2 separate regions of the Homo sapiens genome follow, and region 2 is linked to region 1. Evidence: promoter capture Hi-C in 16 types of primary human blood cells and fetal thymus (Javierre and others, 2016). All regions are on one chromosome and are shown on one strand. The core of a region is centred on a gene start or on the middle of the fragment in contact, and the rest is flanking DNA. Distances in the headings are between cores, read along the strand shown. Region 1 holds the start of PDE4D-AS1 (PDE4D antisense RNA 1). Region 2 overlaps PDE4D (phosphodiesterase 4D).

Region 1 (3,775 bases), core at 925-3,424:
GTTCCTCCTGTCACTATACTACCTTCTTAAGAACAAATCCTGTGTATAAAGTGCATGATGTCTTGAAGCATTAGCCAAAACTTTCCTGAATTATTTTCCACATTAAAAAATAACAACTGAAATATAATGTGTGGAGCCACATCCTGTTAGATTTGAAGCCTGAGTCTGAACAGCTTTGGGAACTTGGTGAAGATGGAGGAAGGGGGCAGTTTACTTAGCTACTGGGAAATCACTTGAGGCTCAGGCTTTGAGAAAGTTGGAGTGCAGGGGAGAGGAGCCACAGAAAGCCGAACCTCAGAGGGGACTCCCAGCTTCATTGTAACCAATGATTGAAAAGATGGCACTGAACAAATCCCAGACACAATGGTTATGCATCTTTAATCCACTGGATAGGCTAACTATGGACAGCTCAAATGATCATAAAACAAGTCAATGTCCTCTTAAAATTTCCTACATTCCTATATTATGGGAATGAGAGAGAGAGGAAAATATCAAAACCAAACCATATAGTAGATGCACTACCATGGCAACTAGGTGATGCTATACTTGCATATGGAAGTTATTCAGTAAAATGAAAATGATTGTGTTAGAGCCATAGGCGAAAGTATTGTTTGTGATCTTTAGGGTGTGGGGTTACAATGGACTTCCTATATTTGTGTGTAATGCTTCAATTTTTATAACAAGCATGTAATATTTTTTACATTCTTAGAATTGGGGAAGCTATACAGAGCAGGTATTTTATATTTACCATTTAAAATTATTAATATCTTTAAGCTTGTTAAGGGGGAAAAAAAAGCTTCAATCTGAAACTTTAATTCACCTGGCAAGGTTTAGGCAGTTGTTTGTCCATCTAAAGTATATATTTACATAGACTGCGGGGTGGAGGAAGTAGAACAAAAAAGAGGCAAATTTTAACCTAGAGTACTCAAAGTGAACAGTAAATAGTTCAAGTATTCTTGATAACAATAAGCCACGTGGCACATGTAACAACTACTTTAAAAGTTACTCTAACTTTTACAAAGTTCACATAAAAAGCTATCTCAAAAATCCCAGGAGCCTAAATTCAGTCCATGAACTTTATTTGTTGTGCCATGTTAATTTATGGAGTCTAAATTTCAAGGGCAGAATTTCTTCTCCAATACCTGTAGATTCAAAGACAAAGACAAGGGATCCCACCACTTAGTGTAAGTTTCTCAGTATCTTCTTTCCACTCGACAATGACAAAGTTTTATCAAATGGACCCTTGGGAGTTTGACTTCTCCTCACTATGAATGGTTTGCTTATTGCATGCTAATGTAGAAAAGTTCTCCCACAACTGATCTGCTTAGGGACAGTGTCCCTGGTGCCCTGGGTCAGCCTTTGTAAACAGAACAGGCTTTTCTGTATGCCTTTGAATATGGTCTTTCCGTTTTCTCAAAATTGTAGTGTACTCTGCACATGGTGGGTAGAAACACCCTTCCAGATTTTCTTCCTTGGCCCAAGATCATCTAGGTCTTATGCAATTCACAGGGGAAAGGAGTAGTATGCAGGACATGCGTAAATTCTCCTTACCATGTGGTTCTTTCACATTGCTGTTCCTTTAAGAGAACTCTTAGGCAATTCGGCATATGAAAATGCAGCCTATTGTCAAATTTGTGAATTATAAAGCGTTCCGACCCCACAACATTGTATATTTTGTTTGCTTGTTTCTGTCCGCCCCAACATTTAGAAGTCTGGTACTTAGTAGGGACTGGGCTGGGTAGAAAAAGAATGCGGTCTTAATTCCCACAACCCTGCCTCCTTGAAGTAGGTGAATCCTAAGCCTTTAGAAACGAACCCCCAGAAACCCTAAAACTTAAACCCTCAGAAACCTTGAGGGTCCTAAATAACCTTGTTTGTGAAACTTCGCAGGAAGCAGCCGGTCGTGGAGTCGCAGAGGCTCCAGCGGTCTGGGCAACCTGGAGGGCAGTGGCTCGGCGGGGCGCGCGGGGTTCTAGCGAGACAGGTGCGCGGCCGTGCGCGCCTGCGTGCCGGTCCCTCCTGAGCCCCGCGGCGGGCGCGACCCCGGACGGCGGACTGCAGGCGCTCCACGCCGGGTTTTCCGCCGCTCTCCTAGCACAGACAGTCCCACAGCAGCCCCACAGACACACACGCTCGCGCCCGCGCCTCCTCGTCTGCACTTCAAAGCGAGTGGCGCCCGGCTGCGCCGGGGGGATGGCACTGCGAGGTGGCGGGGCCCCCGGGGCAGAGCTCGAGGGGAAGGACGCGGCGGGTGGCACGGACAGGGACAGGCTTTTGCAATTCGGAATCTTTTCGTAAGGGGGTTGAGGAGGAGCCAGGCAGCGCCGAGGGCCGAGAGGGGCGTGAGGGGGAGTGTTCCCGGAAAGCTGCGGCGTTGGAGCCGCGCTGCGCCTGCCGCCCGAGGAGTTGAGAAAGAAAACAGGAAACGTGGTGGCCGCGCACCCGGCCGCGGCTGATTCATTCACTTCAAGTGCCGTGCAGAAGGCTCGGCAGGCGGGGCGGGCGTGGGGCCGCGGCTCCGGGTTGGGGACCGAGGAGATCCGGCTGTGGACCAGACGCTCCTCTGCGGGGCGGGCACCCAAGCGCGCTCGCCACCCCCTCGCCATCCGCTAGAGCCGGGCTCCTGGACTGGGACTCGGGCCCGCCGCACAGTTGAAAAGTCGCATAGTGGTTTTTCCGCTCGCGTCGCTGTGTGAAAGTTGGCTCGCCGCTCTTTGCACGCCCTCCCTGGAGGCCGACCCGAGACGCCAAGCTGGAGAGACCGTGCCTCCCCGAGGCCGGCCGCCCCGCGAGCACAGCCTCCGCCCCCGTTGCACTGCCGGGCTGGGCAATATGAAGGAGCAGCCCTCATGTGCCGGCACCGGGCATCCGAGCATGGCGGGGTATGGCAGGATGGCCCCCTTTGAACTCGCTAGCGGACCCGTGAAGCGCTTGAGAACTGAGTCCCCCTTTCCCTGTCTCTTCGCAGAGGAGGCCTACCAGAAACTGGCCAGCGAGACCCTGGAGGAGCTGGACTGGTGTCTGGACCAGCTAGAGACCCTACAGACCAGGCACTCCGTCAGTGAGATGGCCTCCAACAAGGTAAGCCCCGGTTCTGCTGTCACTGGTGCCCCCAGGCTGCTGATTCCCATGCCGGCGAGCCACTGGTACCCATAGCCCCGGGAAATAAATTGAGAGGTTTTTTAGGCTTACTGCATGTTGGCTATTCTGCTCCTTAGAGGGAGGTTCCTGTTTCCTTGCTTTGCCTCCCCTAGTCACGCCAGATAAACATTTTCCAAAAGCAATTTGACGTGCTAAATTTAAGTATCTCCCAAGACACAGGGTTCCTAAGTAACACTGAGCCCTTGCAGCAGAAACCCAGTAGGGTCCATGGGCATTGCATGTTTAAAGGTGTTCTTGGGATTCCCGGTTGAAAATAAGAATTGGTGGATGTCTGTGAAATCACTTGAATGTCACCACCTAGGGCACTCAAACTCAGAAGAGTTCATCGAACTTGGAACCTTCACCCTAATTCATCTAGTTGTCAGGGTACCCCGCAAGAACTGAGCCTTTATATATTCAGTTGGCCATACATATCCGCAGGAAACATTAACAGAGTTAGAAGGTTCCTTATGATCATTACTTTTGTTTCCATTAATCTTGGAAAGAAAGCCCAGTTTTTTGAGGTCATTTAGTACAAGGAGGCTTCAACTAGGCATCTGTGCCATATGTGCTAAGGTGCTGGTCTTGGCAGTTAATGGAGTTTTGAGGGCTGAGAAGTAACCTTCAGCCTGGG
Region 2 (3,775 bases), core at 491-2,990, 300 kb before region 1:
CATTGTTTCCTGTGCAAAATTCAGTTCACCAAGAATACTATTTTCACCAAGAAAGCCATAGACTGTGTGTAGGTAAAGAACTTTTGCGCTAATGAAACTTGTTATTGGCTGGGACTAGGGGCCTAAATACTAGTTTGAGATTCTGTTTCTGCTGTGCCATATAGCATGAGATCCCACTTTTGCCTCTATAAAGCAGGGCTATGGTTATCTTTCCTTATTACCTCAGTTGATTGTTGGCTGTGAGAACCAAGTAAGATATGCTTCATGGAATAACAGAAGAATGCAAGATATTATCACGGGAGGCAACATTTTTGGGATATCACATATTAGTGGAAACTTAAAGAATATTTGAGAGGTTATCTTTGACATTTACATAAAACCATGTATGAAACAAGTAGTTCTTGTGTTTTTTTAACCTATGAACTTTTTCAAGTGTTTTCTCCACAACATTCCTCTCTTCTACCAAAGAAAATCAGTTTACAGTCATGTGTTTTGTAAAAGCCTAAATGGGAATGAAGGTGGTTAGTAAGAGGGTTCACAAGATGGAGAGGCTCCCATGACATTTGTAGGTTTAATCTCGTGCCCCATGACCTCTTAAAATGTCCCCATGCCCATTCAGAATACCCCAATTCACTTCAAAGGCAAAAACAACGTGACATTGTGAAATCATACCAGATGTTCTAGTAGAACTGTGTTCTGGTCCTATTGAGTTCACCCAGGAGAGGCATCAAACTCTGCAATCAGAACATATCAACACATGGCCTATTAGCTGATTCTGCCACTTGGTAGCTGTATATTCTCTCTCTGTTTAGTGTCCTTATCTGTAAATTGAAATAATAATAATAGCTCATAAGGCTTTGTGGGGATTAAGTGAGATAATCATGTACAGTGCCCAGCACAGTGTCTACTGCATGGTAAATACTGCAAAAATGTTAGCTGTTGACTGCTCCTATTTATGACCTTCATTATTAAAAAGGGGAACTTAGGCTGACGCAGGAGAATGGCGTGAACCCCGGGGGACGGAGCCTGCAGTGAGCCGAGATCACACCACTGCCCTCCAGCCTGGGCGACAGCGAGACTCCGTGTCAAAAAAAAAAAAAAGGTGGGGGGGGGGGAACTTATGAATGCCTTTCACTTATACCAGCATCATTAAAAATTTAAGTTTTTTAAGAACCATGAAAAGCTAACCATTGACAATTTAAGAAGCATGCAAGCTTGGTTTACAAAAGAACTGGACAAGCTCAGAATGGGCTAGTTCAGTGGAGTGACTGCTGCAGGAGCTCAGGTTTTGAGACCTTCCTGTCTTCTTCCTTCATCCTTCTCCTCTTTTTGTGTTCTCTCCACACACTTTTCCTCATCAAAGCCAAAACCTTTGTTCTTGCTATATTCTCTTTTTAGAGCCTGCTCACAGTAAAATTTTAAAAAAATGAAGAAGTGCTGAAAGTGTAGATAAGCAATTAGACATGAGTTAATGTTTTTTATTTGCAAGAGCATTTGCATTCTAATATGAACTGAACATTGAGTAAATAGATTCCTGACTCCCTAACAGGGCTATGTCTTGTGTCAGGAAGCCAGCGCACTGGGCTTCTTGGTAGGCAGGAGACCCAAGTCATCATCTGCTACTAAGGCTGGGTCTTGGAAGATGGAGAAGGCCGTAGAAGAAAGGAAAGCCAAAAAAAGAAAGGAATGAGATTTTGATATATTAATTAGCTCATACTATAAGCCTGGACTTTTGCTAGGCATTTTCCATGGTAATTTGGTTATACCTCAAAACAATTCTCAACATTATTATCACTGCCACCACTTCTGTTAGCAGCTGTGAGAACAGAGGTCATGTGAGTAAGCAGTTTGCTAAGGGTTGCATAGCTTAAAAAGTAGTCAATAAGCTAAAGTTTGAACCCTGAGATGCCTGGCCTTCACAGCTAAACTTTTATTAATTACACCTGCTTCTAACAACAACAACCATGGCTAAAGTTTCATTAACCTACCAGTTTCTAACAACATTAACAAAAACATTTTCAAAAATATAATAATAGTCATCAATAGGAATAAAGGGAAACAATCCAAAAATAGCTCTGTTGAGGTTACTGATGGATGGGGACAGGAAAGTACAAAATTTTTTCTACGAAAGTTTCCCTTTGAGGATCACTTTCCTTGGCTGTCTTGCCTTGTGAAATTATACCTTCCCTAATGGCTTGGAGCTGATTGTGCCCTTCTTTCTGTCAAGGACAGCTTAAACTTCATGGAATAGTTTATTTGAAGCTTGTGGGTACCAATTCCAGGCAGCAAGATACTACTTTCAGAGATTCAATTAACTTCCTTCAGAGTCACAGCAAAAAGCGATAGAGCTAAATTGATTACCTTGAAGTGCCTTAACCGTTTTGCTGCTGTTGTTACTTCTTGAGCCAATTTATTCTCCCAGCAATGTCACTGTTACTGAAGTTGGTCTGTTCTTTATTCTCAGTTTATGAATAGGAATCATCTGAATATAGTTATAGACCTCTAGTCTAGATCATTTTTTGCAAAATTACAAAGATGGGAAAATTTCCAAGCCATAGTTATTCCAAATGGCTGGGAGTGCCTTAGGAACTTATTTCTGGAGTCTTTTGAACTATTTATATTATTGATATGAACAATGCCCCTGATTGTTAGTTAGCAATCTATTCATTGATAGGGACATGAAAGGCAGTCTGCTGCCATCTAGCTTTTTAGTTTCTATCTTTAGGAATTTTCCGGTCCTTTCACAGAAAGACACTTTTTAAAGGAGCAATTCTTACTTCATCCCTGAGAGGGAGACACTTATGAAGGTACTGCAGAATCTTAAAAAAAAAGTCTTCATCATTCTTTTACTTCTTTTTGCCTTTAAGTTGGTCTTAAATGGGTAAAAGTGATAAATGTAGGTTGTGTAGTTCAAATCCATTGCAGTGACTAAGCAGTGACCACCCATAGGGGCAAAAACTATGTATTTTTAGAGGCAAAGATTGATAACCACAGCCATGACCCTGAGCAAGACTGTGAAATAGATGCAGTTCTTTGCCATCCTCCCTTTTCCTGAGTTATGGGCACTTTCTGCCTTCATAGCTGTTTCCTCTGCAAAATGGAGATTTTACTGTCAGAAGTCTCCTATTGCTATTGCTTCTTGGAGTTGGTTCCCATGCTCTGGGCACAGGAAAGCAATCTGAGATCTTCACTACTAGTATTTATTGAGCACCTATACTATGCCAGGACTGGACTGTGCTCTGAGGTCACAGTGGTAAACATACCGACATGGTTCCTGCTGTCATGAGCCTTCCAAAGGAATAGCGAAGAAAAACATTAAACATATCAGCCCATGATTAAATGCATAATTAGATAAAATGCATTGAAGAAGTAAAGATCCCAGGAAAGGAGAGAACCAATTAATATGATGGATGGGAAATCAAGGCTGCTGGAAGGAAGTAGTGTATAAGCTGAAAAATGAGGAGTGAATAGGAATTAGCCAAGTGAAAAGCAGAGGCAAATGGGTTTCAGGAAAAGGAAAAACATATGTACCAGTAACATTTCAAGAAGAAATGGGAAGGATTAGATGATTTCTGTTATTCTTATTAGGTTGATCTCTTCCATGGAAGAGACACACAGAATGTAATTAATTTATAGAATATAAAAATGATTTTTTTTTTTAGGAATGGGGAGGTGAGGAGAAGACCCGCTTCAAGTTCTGTTCCAATATTAATATGGTTTTGCTTTCTCTACAAACCTAAGTAAAACAATGGTGGTACCAAGGGTTGGTTGGGAG

Evidence for each region. Contacts are between HindIII fragments. The CHiCAGO score rates a contact against its expected background, and 5 or more counts as called.
Region 2: a contact is called between a fragment that was not itself captured here and the fragment with the promoter of PDE4D-AS1 in region 1, in 2 of 17 cell types (fetal thymus and naive CD4 T cells). The highest score is 7.3, in fetal thymus.

The regions. Positions count from the first base shown.
Region 1 is chr5:59,038,165-59,041,939 of GRCh38, reverse strand. PDE4D-AS1 (PDE4D antisense RNA 1) reads right to left here and starts at 2,174. Exons shown (of 2, transcript NR_198970.1): 1 at 1,870-2,174. It overlaps PDE4D (phosphodiesterase 4D), which reads left to right. Exons shown (of 15, transcript NM_001104631.2): 6 at 2,969-3,081. RefSeq lists a silencer at 2,736-2,805. The HindIII fragment of the contact is 4,461 bases long and covers 799-3,775 here.
Region 2 is chr5:59,334,664-59,338,438 of GRCh38, reverse strand. The region is part of intron 1 of PDE4D (phosphodiesterase 4D); the gene reads left to right. Among named protein-coding and RNA genes, the nearest start is that of PDE4D-AS1, 300 kb to the right of the region's middle. The HindIII fragment of the contact is 1,048 bases long and covers 1,217-2,264 here.